2 separate regions of the Homo sapiens genome follow, and region 2 is linked to region 1. The links are contacts of gene promoters, found by promoter capture Hi-C in human tissues and cell types (Jung and others, 2019). All regions are on one chromosome and are shown on one strand. Each heading gives the region's core, a stretch centred on a gene start or on the middle of the fragment in contact. The rest is flanking DNA. Distances are from core to core; before and after follow the strand shown. Region 1 holds the start of TPRA1 (transmembrane protein adipocyte associated 1). Region 2 holds the start of ACAD9 (acyl-CoA dehydrogenase family member 9).

Evidence for each region. Contacts are between HindIII fragments. The study calls those that stand out against the background at their distance.
Region 2: a contact is called between the fragment with the promoter of ACAD9 here and a fragment that was not itself captured in region 1, in 1 of the 25 tissues and cell types used here (dorsolateral prefrontal cortex).

What each region holds. Positions count from the first base shown.
Region 1 is chr3:127,589,298-127,595,896 of GRCh38, reverse strand. TPRA1 (transmembrane protein adipocyte associated 1) reads left to right here and starts at 5,164. Exons shown (of 11, transcript NM_001136053.4): 1 at 5,164-5,487. RefSeq lists silencers at 4,512-4,841, 5,342-5,811 and enhancers at 5,545-6,221, 6,222-6,599. The HindIII fragment of the contact is 5,167 bases long and covers 751-5,917 here.
Region 2 is chr3:128,876,335-128,882,933 of GRCh38, reverse strand. It overlaps ACAD9 (acyl-CoA dehydrogenase family member 9), which reads right to left and starts at 3,314. Exons shown (of 18, transcript NM_014049.5): 1 at 3,093-3,314. The coding sequence starts at 3,242. ACAD9-DT (ACAD9 divergent transcript) reads left to right here and starts at 3,498. Exons shown (of 3, transcript NR_186174.1): 1 at 3,498-3,798. RefSeq lists enhancers at 1,888-2,739, 3,048-3,127, 2,740-3,592, 3,188-3,737, 3,593-4,444. The HindIII fragment of the contact is 32,484 bases long and covers 1-6,599 here.

The DNA.
Region 1 (6,599 bases), core at 2,085-4,584:
TTCACATGATAGGATTCAGGTCCTCATAGGCTGTTGGACTGAAGACTTAGTTTCCCACTGGCTCTTGGGTGGGGGCCTCTCTACAGAGCAGCTTACAACCTGGCAGCTGGTTTCTTTCAGAGCAAGCGAACAAGAGAGAGAGGCCATACAAGACAGATGCCATGTCTTGGAAGTGATATTCCTTTACTTTTGCCATATTCTCTTAGCGAGAAGTGAGTCCTGAGGTCCGGCCCACACTGAAGGAGAGGAGATCCTAGCAGGGCTGGGGATTATCAGGAGCCCTCCCAAAGGCCACTGAAGAGAGCAGTCAAGATGGTGGATGGGGTCAGCTGGCTGCCCAGAGGTCATCTGATAAGGACTAGGAGCTGTTAGTGGCCCTGGCGATAGCAGATCTGGGCTGGCCGGTGTGTCTGGAGTCAGACACTACATTGAAGTGTGTTGACAGGTAGGATGCAGGGAAGTGAGAAGGGTGAATGTGAGTTACTAGTTGGAGGCTGGAGTGCTTTTATGTCACCCAAAGATGTATGGGTCAGAGAGGCATTCCCAGGTGTGGAATGGACTGTGAGAGCTGGGACAGGCACTGGAGTGGGATATGGCTTTTTCTCAGATGAGAGGTTCTTGGACATGTTTAAACACTGGTTGGGGGCAGGGTAGGAGAGACAGAAAGGTGGGTGGGGTGAGTAGGCAGCCTCTATTATGGCCCTGATGGCCCTTGCCTTCTGGTATTCACACCCTTGTGTGATCTCCTCCCAACAGCATAGGACAGATGTGGTTGGATGTTACTTTGGAGATTCAGTTACAAAAAGACTGCAGCTTTGCTCACTCTGAGAGAAGGCAGCATCCATGTCTTGAGGACACTCAGGCAGCCTGGGACAGGCTTGGGGAGTGAGGAGCTGGGACCCCAGCCAACAGTCATGCTGGACTTGCTCCAGGACACATCACCTTGGGGTTTGCTCTTCCCAGGTCAGTAGGCATCCAGCGCTGGGGCAGCTGCTTCAGGACATCGCCGAGGACAAGTCTCCTCCCCATTCTGGTTCCACCATCTGTAGCCTGTGGCTTTCATCCTCAAGGGCTCCATGCGACCGCTGCACATCCAGGTACTACATCTGACCCATGTATTGAGCCAGCTCAGCTGTGATCAAGCGCAGCCTTTTTCCTCCGTAAGAACTGCCCATTGGCGTAGTTGTGAACTGAGGCAGAGGAGCTGCTGTGGCAGTGGTAGGTGATGTGGATGTACAACGGATTGCTTACAGTCTCAGTGGATTGCTGCTAGGCCCACCCACCTGAATTTACATATTAGAGGGCCTGACAGAACCCAGTTCATGAGGGGCAGCTCTGGCCTCATGGTCACTTGATGTCCCCTAGTCATCTCTACCAGGGTCCAGTAGCCTGGCAGAGCTGCTTTGTGAATGGTGTCTAGTTCTCTACTATAGATGACCTGGTCTTGCTCCAGAACCCTAGGGGGTCTACTTTGTGGTTTTTCCCACCAGAGCTTGCTGTAAGCTTCACACAGCATATCTTCCCACCATGTATGCCTCTAGTATCATGGGGTCTGTGGGTCCCATAGCCTGAGGGACAGCCTTTGATGTCATGTGACCCAGAGATATGTGGGTCAGAGCAGCACTCCCAGGTGTGGAATCTGCTACCTCCAGAACCCAAAGAGGCCTCTAAGCATTGTGCTTGCTCTTCTGTGATGGAGTGTGCAGGGGGATGTTCTGGTGTGCCCCACACCACCAGACCCCTACAAACCTCACTGATGTGGCAAGCCCCTAATTCTTCATAGGGTTTAATCTTCTGCCCGCTGGAGCACATATGTCTCATCAAGTTTTCCATGTACTTGTCACCTCCTGCTCATCCATCCTGATTAGCACATTGTCATTGACACCATGAACCAGTGCAGTGTTCTGCAAGACGTTCAGATGGCCCAGTCTCCTTCAGACTGTGATGACAAAGGATGGGAAAGGTATCATTGGCCTGGGGCAAGACCATATGTGTGTATTGTTGGCCGTTCCTATGAGTGCAAATGGTCCCTGATAGGGATGAAAAAGTGTGGTGATCAGATGGCCCCTGAGAAGCGGGGGCCGTGCTGATCTGTCTGTGCTAGCAATGCACCTGCACAGCACCTGTGGTCAGGGCTACCACTTGGCTGAATCTGCAATAGTCCATTGCCACTCTGTTTATTTTTATAAGGTCAGACTGATGAATTAAATAGGTACATGGTGGGGGATACCCTCCACACGTCTTTGGTCTTCAAGGGTGGCACCAGTCTCCGCCATTTTCTCTGGTGTGTGATGTTGTTTATGTGCTTGCTCTCTTGGCCGGGGTGGGTGGTGGTGATAGTGGGGTCTCAGAGGCTTTCACTTGACTTTTACTACCATCACTCTCACCCCATAGACCAAGGAACCAGTGCAGGCATTTTGTTTACTACACAGGATGTCTATCCCAGTGATATATTGAGCTTGATCTTGATGGTCCTATGACAGTTGCACCCACTTTGCTTCTCACGCCTAAGCACTACCATCTGGCGTCTGTTATCTGGGGATTGCTGTCATCCCCATGGCTATCAGGGAGCCCAGTTCTGTAGCAGCATCTCCTACTGTCAGCCGTGGCCACCCCTGAGCCTGCTGTAGGGTGATGAAGAACCTGAGAGTCAGATCTGTTTATTAAGCTACTATTCATTTAATGTTGCAGATGCCACGCTCTGTCCTGTGTGTAGTGGATACTGCAGTGAATTAGCCACTGCCTCAGCTCTCAAAGGCAGATACCTTTGGTTATTTCACAAATACAACAAAATCCCACAGAAACTTAGATATGGGGTTCAAAACTCAAGAGAAGAAAATGCAGAATTCTCCAAGTCTCAAAAGGCAGAAAAATAAAAATAGAGGGTTTAAGATTCTTCCTGGGGCCTGAAAGCTTAAGATGAATAACTCCTCCCTTCTCAGGCCCAGTTCCAAGGTGCAAGGCTACTTGTGCCAGCAAGATAGCAGAAGCAGGACAAGAGCTGGCTGGAAGACACCTACCGTGGTGGGAAGACATGTACCCGTGAAGATCGAGAAAGAGTCCATCCGGGTACAACGTAGCAGTTACGTCAGACTAGGACACTTCCTGTTTACAGGAGACTATAAAACCTTTGCCGCGTCCTCACTTGGGGCTGATGCCATTTTAGGCCTCAGCCCACCTGCACCCAGGCGCTCATTAAAACAGCATGTTGCGGCCGGGCGCGGTGGCTCACGCCTGTAATCCCAGCACTTTGGGAGGCCGAGGCGGGTGGATCATGAGGTCAGGAGATCGAGACCATCCTGGCTAACAAGGTGAAACCCCGTCTCTACTAAAAATACAAAAAATTAGCCGGGCGCGGTGGCGGGCGCCTGTAGTCCCAGCTACTCGGGAGGCTGAGGCAGGAGAATGGCGTGAACCCGGGAAGCGGAGCTTGCAGTGAGCCGAGATTGCGCCACTGCAGTCCGCAGTCCGACCTGGGCGACAGAGCGAGACTCCGTCTCAAAAAAAAAAAAAAAAAAAAAAAAAAAAACAGCATGTTGCTCCACACCGCCTCGTGTTGTGTGTCGGCGCGCTCGCAGGGTTCGAACCGATACAAGAACCTTACAGAGGGTAGTTATTAGGCCTGGTCACACATGTCCCATGACTTCTACTTCCTGGCACATGGTAGGGTGGCAGTTTCCTGCCCTCTGGAGGCTAGAAGCGGTGGCCAATTGAATGTGCGTGAGAGTGATGTGTATAACTTTCTGGGAGGAACTTGAGGAGCCACTGGATTCCCCACGGCTCATTGTGGCTGTGGTCATTCGTGATTACGCAGGCCGGCATTGCCCAGCCTCTCTGGCGAATATAGAAGCCTAAACTTAGGTATGCACATTTGGGTGTGGTCCAGGCTGGGAAAGTCCCAGAGGATCACAAGGTGGTTTCTTCCCCAATCTCCCTGTGTTTTTAGGACAGGAGCAAGGAGAAGAATGGGACCCAATCTCATTCCAGCCCAGCGGTGCTGTCGCAAGGTGTGAGTCTTGGGGTGCCTGTAATAACTGAGTGCCTACAATCTGCACGAGGCTCTGAGTCAGCCTCAGGATGCTGCAGGGGACATCCTGCAGCTTGGCTCTCTTGGCTCCATCCTCATGACGCTGGAATTCTATAATAGGGTGGGGAGACTGGACGGGGAGGCAGGTAAATGAAAACAATCAGGTGAGAATTAAGATGCTCGGAAGGAAATGAGACTGGACAGCCGCTCCAGCGAGGGTGTCCACAAAACCCTCTAGAGGACATGATGTGGCAAGGAGCCAGCTCTGCGGGGGAACAGGTGTAGAGCCAGGAGCAGGAACAAGCTTGGAACAGCCGAGGGACAGAAACAGAGACCCGCATGGCTTGAGTATGGTGAATGCAGCATCGATGCCAGGGGATAAGACAGGCGCAATCAGGGAGGGCTTTCCAGAGGAACAGGCGTGAAGAACTGTGGAAGTTAGAGTTGGGGAGAGGCGTCCTGGCTGTGTCGCTTCCTCATTGCGCGGCTTTGGTCAAGTTATTTGACCTCTCCAAGCCTCAGGTGGCCCTGTAAAAGGTGACTATAATGACTGCCTAGCAGGGTTGCTAAGAGGAGTGCCCGAGGCATGGCGGCGCCGCGTGGAGCAGGGCGCTGGGAGGCGGCGGCCCTGCGGCGTGGCGCGGCTGGAGCGCGTGGCGCCGGGGAGGGTCCCCGACACGCCTTCCCCCAAGCTGACCCCAGGTCACCCCTGCAGGGCGCCCGAAGCGCCCGCACGCGAGGGGGCGGTCCCCGGAGGCTCCGCCCCGACGGTCCGGCCGCGGCCCAGGCCGGGAGGTGGAGCGCGGCTGCCGCCAGCTGGTCCACTGACAACTGCTGCCAGCTGGAAGGCGCGTAGGGCGAGAGGTGGCGCGTCCTCAGCTTTCCAGTCTTCGATTCCGCCCGCTTTCCGAGTGAGAAACGCAGGCCTCTCTCTTCCGTGAAGCAGCGTCTTGTCTCTGCACCTCCTCTGTGCTGTCTCTTTAAGAGGTCAGCGGGCTGCTCCGCCTCTTGGGAATTTGATTGGTCTCTCCCACTTTTTTTTTTTTTTCCCCCAGTGATGACTTATTCCTATAGGCTGCTGGAGGTTAGAGGGCGGGCCTGAGTGATAACAGGGACTCTGGGACTCTGGGACTTGTGGGACTGTGGCCGTTTTCGCAATTTGGGCTGGACGAAAAAGACGGTCTTGCTTTCCCGGTCGCCGCTGTCGGGAAGGGCTGCAGGGTGTCCGCGAGACCCGCGGCCCGGCGAGCTGACCCCGCCTCGCCTTTCCTGCCTAGCCCTCATTCCACGGAGCCGGTCGCGCCCGGTCCTTGCGCGACGCTTCCCGGCCCAGGCCGCCTGGTCTGGCGCTGGAGGCCGGAGTCCCGCGGCCTGTGCTGGATCCGCGCACACCCAGTGGCGGCGGATGGGCGGCCGGGGCGGCCGGGGCGGCCGGTCCTGAGCGCGGCCCGGGCTGTCAGGTAAGGAGGGGCCTTCTCCCCGTCTCCTGCCGCAGCTAGAGGGGGAGCCCCGTCCCTCGCCCCGGCGGGAAGCCCAGCCGCCGTTCCCCTCCTTGCTCCGCGAGCGGCCCATTTCCGCTCGGGCGCAGCTCGGACGGCCAAGGCGGCGTTTGGGAGGGAAGGCCCTGGATGTGGGAACCCACGGGAGGGGTGCCGGGCAGTCGGGAGTCGCTCGGGGCGCGGGGGCACGCGAGGCCCGGGAGGGAGCCGCACGTAGCGGCGTCGGGCTCGGCCCCGGCTGGAGGCAGTGCGGGTGGAGATCCGGACCTCGGCGACCCGGTCCGGCGCGGGGTGGCGGCACGGGCTCCAGCCCCACGGTGGCTGCCCGCAGCGGCCGAGGTGCTCCTGAGCCAAGCCTGCCGCCGGTTCGGGGCTTTGCTGCCCCGTGAGGGGGCCATGTCGAAGCCTCCGCTCCCTCTGGACTCGGGGAATGCAGGTGGGGGCTGGCTTTGCCCTCTTCTCTGCAGTGAGGAGGGGCCGCAGGGTCGTCCAGTCCCCAGCGGGGCTTGGCGGTGCTGGAGATTCAGTTGTTCCCGTCATAACAACCTGTTGAGGGCTCGTGTCGTGCCAGGCCTTGTTCTAGGGGACCGAGTCCTGAGCACTCCCGGGATAGAGAGTAGTAAATACCCAGACGCGGCTCGGGCGCTGGAGACAGCTGAGAAGGGAAGGCTTCTCAGAGGAGGTGTCAGGAGAGAGCTGGGGGAGAGCCAGCCCAAAGGCCCTGAGGAACGGACCAGCTCAGCAGGTGGAAGGCAAGCAGGGAGGGCAAGGTGCAGGTCAGATTGGGCCCAGGCCTCCCCATCTTACTGGGGTCTCCGGCTTAGGACAGGGACCACACGCCTGCCAGCCCCAAGGCCGAAGGACAACAGGGGAGAGCAAAGTAACTTACTTGGCCTCTGCCCTATGGAGCCTTCCCCACCTTGTCACCCCTGGGCTCCACCCCTTCTCACCACCCTTAGGCCCTAGGGTTTGTAAGCTCAACAACCCGTCGGTGTGGGAAGCACTGAGGGCCCCTCTCCCCAGGGTTTCCTATCCGGTAGCTGTGGGTGGGGTTTGGTCAATCCTGTTGCACA
Region 2 (6,599 bases), core at 2,065-4,564, 1.3 Mb before region 1:
AAGACTGCCTGGCAACTAATTGGCCTTCAGGTACAACCACAGAAAACCTGCCACACAGGAGAGATTGCAGGGGCGTGGGAGAAAGATCCTGATGTTATCAAATCAGGTCAATGCCTTAGGGGAGGAGAGTTCAATTGCAATAAACAGTTTGTAAATTATCTAAAAAAGTGGAACCTGTTATTCAAAGAAATCTAGTGCAGAAACCAAATATGTAAAACAGACAGAAGCAGGCGGCTCTGACTGAGACTGCTGATAGGGAAAACAGGCACCCAAATCCCACCCACTCAACTTCCCACCCATCCCTGCAGCAGTTCCAGGACACTCCATGAATAGCTTGGGTCCAGCTTAGGGCAGGGTGACAACCACTGGCCTACACAATCTGAGATTCTAAGCATCATGTCCCATGTTTCTGCTCTAATCCCAGTAAGGCTGTGAGAGATGACACTGGCCTGATCCAAAGTAGCAGCAGAAGGGCCTAAAAGTGGTCAGATTCTAAGAACCTAAAAGTAGAGAAAACCAGATCTTCTGTGGAATTAGAAGTGGACTAGGAGAATAAGAGTACAAGGTGACTCCAGGTGTTCTGTTTGAACAGGTGGAACAACAGAGCCACCATTATCTATGATAAAGAAGGCTGGTGGAAGGAGCAGGATTGGGTGGGAACCAGGAACTCAGTTTGGGATCTATTAATCTCAAATGCCTGTTAGACCTCTTAGTACAGCTTTTGAGTACAAAGGTAGATTAAAAAAAGAATCTTGGCTGGGTGTGGCAGGGCGTGCCTGTAGTCCCAGCTACTGGGGATGCTGAAGTGGGAGGATCTATTGAGCCTTAGGAGTTCAAGGTTGCAGTGAGCTATGATGGCACCACTGCACTCCAGCACAGGTGACAGAGAAAGCCCCCAACTCTGAAAAAGCAAAAGGAATCTGGAGTTCAGGGAGAAATCTGAACTGAAGAAAGAAACTTGAGGCATCAGGATATTGATGATATTTAAAGCCAGGACACTAAATAAGGTCACCCAGCAGATGGCTGTAGATGAAACGAGACCCAGCCTTAGTAAATTCCAACTTGGCTAGTTGGAAACACTGGTCACTGTTTAGCGGTCAAGGAGCTGAATAAGAACCAGCAATGGACACAGAGAAGTATCAGCCAGTGAAGTATTTAGAACATTCAGAGAATGGCGAGAACAGTGATTCAGAAACCAGAGACGAAAGTGCGTCAACAGGGTGGAAGGATGAACGGTGTCAGATGCCAATGATGGGTCAAGTAGGATGAGGTCTGAGAACAGATCACACAATTTGATAACAGAGAGGTCATTACTGACTTCTATGGCCATTAGGGACAAATGCCTGAATGGTAAGGGCTCAAGATCCAGTAGAGAGAACAGTTAATGATGCAGAGAAAGGAAAGAATTACCCTTGAGTAGGTGAGAAGACCTGGAGTCTAATGAGAGGTTGGTTTTGCCAGGAGCAGACAGTTCACAGTAACAGAATGTAGATAATACCGGCACATATGCAGCGGGAGGGGGTAACTGTGCCTGTGAACTTCTCATCCGACTGCATGGATTTTCCCAGTGGAATGGGAAGCAAAGCTGACAGCTGAGAGTAAAGGCAGGGCAGGGCAGGTAGTGCCAGAGGTTTAAAGATGGAAACAGATCTGAAAGATCTGTGTTCTTTCTTCACCATGCTGCTGGATAGCAGGAAGTCCCAGGATAGAGCACCACACTGCCCCAGGTCCTGGGTAAAAGGTTTTCCAATATGTTCAAGACATAGCTCCGCACTTTCTAGCTGGGCAAACTGCTTTTAGTCTGAGTCTTAGCTTCTTCATCTGTAAAGTTGCTTGCTATAAAGGTATCAGCCTGACAACCTCAGAGGAACGTTCCAAAGAGAAGCCAGGGAATAACTTCTGTGATACAGGATCAGCCAACATTCAGCCAAGTTCAAAGTAGGGCACCTCGACGAAATAGCAAGTATACTGTTGGTTTCCTTAGAAGATAAAATGAAATACAAAGGAAAGAGCAAGAAATGTGTTTATTCCTATTTTGTAGATGAATGCACTGAGGCACAGGGAGGTGCAGCCGTCAGCTCCAAGGTCACAAGACTAAGTGTTGAAGCCAGCTCTCTCTTCTGCTGCACAGTACTCTACAGTTTAAGAAGACTCTCCATGCACCGTTTATCTCACTGGGGCTCTACAACACATCTGTGAAGGAGACACAACACTATCTCCATTTTAAGGCTGAAAGAACTGAGTCTTGGCCGGGCGCGGTGGCTCACCCCTGTAATCCCAGCACTGTGGGAGGCCGAGGTGGGCGGATCACCCGAGGTCAGTTCTAGACCAGCTTGGCCAACATGGTGAAACCCCGTCTCTGCTAAAAATACAAAAAAAAAAAAAGCCGGGCAGGCGCCTGTAATCCCAGCTACTCCGGAGGCTGAGGCAGGAGAATCGCTTGAACCCAGGAGGGAGGTTGCAGTGAGCACTCCAGCCTGGGCGACAAGAGCGCGACTCTGTCTCAAAAAAAACAACTGAGTTTCAAAGTCAACGAGCCAAGACCAAACCCAAGTCTTCCAACTCTAAGAAGACAATGAGTGTTTTATAACCAAACTGTTACTATTGGCTGGGTTGTGCCACCCTTGGGAAGCATCTTGGAGCCAGATTTCTGAGGAACCTCAATGGCAGGGAGAGGCGCTGGGCTCACCTGGGGAAGGAAGCCCCAGGGCGCTGGAAGGTGACTGAGGAGGGACATGGTGTAAGCTGTTTAGGAATCAGAGAGGAAGCCCCGCACATTTCCAGACCAGACCAGCTGAGATGAAGGCTGCTTTGTTAATTACCTAGCCTAGAGTTTTCCGAATTCCCCTGACAAAATTTAGCTGGAACACGTCACCACCACATTTCCAAGGGTCCCCCGTCTTGGAAATGTCTCACCCTTTCTCTGGGAAGGTTTTCCTGGAACTCAGGAATCCGGAGTGTTAACACGCCTCGGCCGCAGGGTGTATCTCTCTGGCAGGTTTGGGGAATCTCACAAAGTTCAACACCAGTCTTGCAGCTGAGGGTGAAAAGCGGGAGCCAGACAGCAAGGGTTCGCCCAGGGCTCGCGTTACCTTCTTGATTTTGCCTAGGAAAAGCTCTTTGGCGAAAGCTCGTACAGGCGGGCTGGTGCGCAGTAGCCGCCGGTTCGCGGTAGAGACCACCAGACCCCGGCAGGCACGAGCCGCAGCCGTGGTGCGCAGGAAGAGCCCGCAGCCGCTCATGCTGCCCGATGTTCCCCAGCCTCAGCCTCAGTCTCCCCTTCTTAGCGCCGCAGGGACACACACACGTCTGATGACGTTACTGGCCCGCGACAACGTGCAGTACTCACTGCGCTTGCGCGGTCCCCCGCAGCAGGGGATGGAGAGGCCAGAAGGGCGGGAAGGCTACCACCTGCCGCGCCCAAGGCCTTAGTCACGTGCACCTGGCTGGCCCGCGCCGCCTGATGACGTCACACGCCTACGCTTCCCGCCGGCCCCACTGCGCTTGCGCGGCCAAAGGAGCTGGCCGGAGGAAATTGTAGGCCCTGGGCCGCGGGCATCTCGGCGGGTATAATCTCTGGCCGTCGTGACGGCGGTGACGGACCTGTTTTTCACATACCAGCGGTTGTTTCCATAAATGCCAGCCATGGGAAATCTCCCTGTGTACAGAAACCTAAAGGCCGGCTCAGCTGCCTCCACTTGTCTCTTTTGTCACTTGTGGCCACGAGGCCGTGGTAAAACTTGAGAAAAGCAAAAGAATGAGGGAAATGCGCTGTATTGGGGTCTCTGCAGGGGCACGGTAAGGGTAAGGGTCCATTTTTAACTGGATGGTGGATTCCTGAGATACTGTTTTGTTCCTAGTTGACATGTATGTTACATATATTTTTTGGAAAAGGAAAAGAAAGTGGGTGTTCAGTCACAGAGCGGTCTGGATACAACTGAGTCACCTCTGTCCTGGGAAACACTAACTTAAAAGGCAGGCGGAGGAAGAGAAACTACAGAGAGAGCTGAGAAGAGATGGGAACTATTGGATGGGATGGGACAGGCCAGGCTGTAACCGCCCAAGGTTACAGCCCGCTGACTAGACAGCTGATTTATCAAGACGGAAATTGCAATAGAGAGAGAGTAATTCACGCAGAGCCGGGTGTGTTGGAAAGGGAGTTTTATTAGCCAAATCGGTCTCCCCAAAAACGGATCGGAATTTTTAAGGATAATTTGGCGAGTAGAAGCTCGGGAAGTGGGAGGTGCATGATTGGTCGGGTTGGAGATGGACTGATAGGGGGCCGAAGTGAGTTTTTCTTGCTGTCTTCTGTTCCTGAATGGGATTGCAGAACTAGTTGAGCCAGATTACCAGTCTGGGTGTTGGTAGGTTTTACAACAGTGATGTTATTCCCAGGAACAATTTGGGGGACGTTCAGACTCTTGCAACCAAAGGCTGTATGGCCTCTAAACTGTAATTTCTAATCTTATAGCTAATTTGTTAGTCCTCCAAAGGCCAACTGGTCCCAGGCAAGAAGAGGTTGTTTTTTGTTGTTGTTGTTGTTGTTTTCCCGGGAAAGGGCTATTTTTGTTTTGAAGTTAAACTATAAACTCATTCCTTCCCAAGGTTAGTTCAGCCTACGCTCAGGAATGAACAAGGACAGCTTGGAGGTTAGAAGCAAGATGGAGTTGGTTAGGTCAGATCTCTTTCATTGTCTCGGTTATAATTTTGCAGTGGCGGTTTCAAGGCCAGGCCATAGGGGCCCACGTAGGAGGCAGGGCATGCCTGGCACCTCACAGCCCAACAGTGCTCTGAACGTGGCACATGGGCCCTCTACAGATCTTCAGCCAGCTCCTCCAGGAAGAATGCCACTCTGCTTTTTCACCCAGACCGGTAATCTGGCTCAACAAGTTTTGCAATCCCACCTAGGAACAGAAGACAGCAAGAAAAACTCACTTCAACCCCCTATCATTCCATCTCCAACCCAACCAGTCAGCACTCCCCACTTCCCGAGCTCCTACTCGCCAAATTATCCTTAAAAACTCCGATCCCTGTTTTGGGGGAGACTTGCTTGTTCCCCGACTGTAGCATTGACCACAGTGTTGGGAAATGCCTCCAGCTTCCATTGTGTCAACTCCTTGAGAAGAAAAAGAAATCCCTTTCATCTCAGCAAGCTAAGCTCAGCACCAAAAAAGATTACATTGCTAACACAACATCAAGAAAAAAGAGCTCAAAACTCTGCAAGGCGTAGAGTCTAAACTGCAAAATATTTGCAGGCATCTTTTCAGATTATTTTACCTTGTCTAAGGTCTCTCACCTGGTTTCTTCATCAGTGGTTGATATTTACTTGCTTAGCATTCAGCTTCACAAGAAGGTATTTGGAAACAACTGCCTTTGTAAATTATCCCCATAGGTAAAACAAAGAAAAATATACATATGTTGCAAAAACTGTTTCAATTTTGAGCTGCTGTACTTTTTTGCCAAACAAATGTAGTCAAATCAGTCAAGTACTCTGTTAATGTGTCAAATGTTTAGTGTACACAGGTCTCCCTAAATCAACCAAATGAGAAATCCAGTGGCACAGAATTTTACAAAACAAAAATTAGAAAAATGTTAAGGCATAGTTTCTAATTGCTCCAATAGAGTATAGCAGAAGAGTTTTGCTGTTTCACTACTATACTAGTTTCTAAATTCAGTTTCCTCATCTGTAAATATGAGTATGATACCCTTTATCTCACAGGACTTTTAAAAGGTTTAAGTAAATCCACATGAAAGCACTTAGCACAGCAAGTGATAAAAATGACAATAGTTACACTTTGATCCTTCCATCTTATATTTAAGTATTAGCCTCTGAGAAATATGATGTTGTTTTAAACAGTTTCCCCTGTTCAGTGTACTAAAAGAAAAACTTCAGCTGAATTAAATTTAAAGGAGCTTAATTGGCCGGGTCGGGTGCAGTGCCTCATACCTGTAATCCCAGCACTTTGGGAGGATGAAGTGGGCAGATCACTTGAGGTCAGGAGTTCGAGACCAGCCTGGCCAACATTGTGAAACCCTGTCTCTACCAAAAATACAAAAATTACTGGGCATGGTGGTGAGTGCCTCTAATCCCAGCCACTCGGTAGGCTGAGGCATGAGAATCACTTGAACCCGGGAGGTGGAGGTTGCAGTGAGCCAAGATTGCACCACTGCACTCCATCCTGGACGACAGAGCAAGACTCTGTCTCAAAAGAAAAAAAGTTTAATTGAGCAATCGATTCAAATCAGGCAGCTTTCTGAGCCAGAGCAAGCTCAGACACTCCAGCACAGCCATGTAATGGAAGATTTATGGACAGCAAAGGAAAGTGAGGTACAGAAACAGCTGGATTGGTTACAGCTCTGCCTTGCCTTATTTGAACATGGTTTGAACAGTTGGCTACATTTGATTGGCAAAAACTCTGTGATTGGCACAAGTATAGGCTACGGTCTGTTTATGCCTCCACTTATAGTTCACAATGTGCAGAAAACCTATAAGCCGAACTTAAAATATATAAGGAAGCAGCTTTAGGCTAAACTTGATTTAACAACTGTTTAAAATATCCTCATGGTAGTTCTGAATGTCTCCTCACATCAATACAACT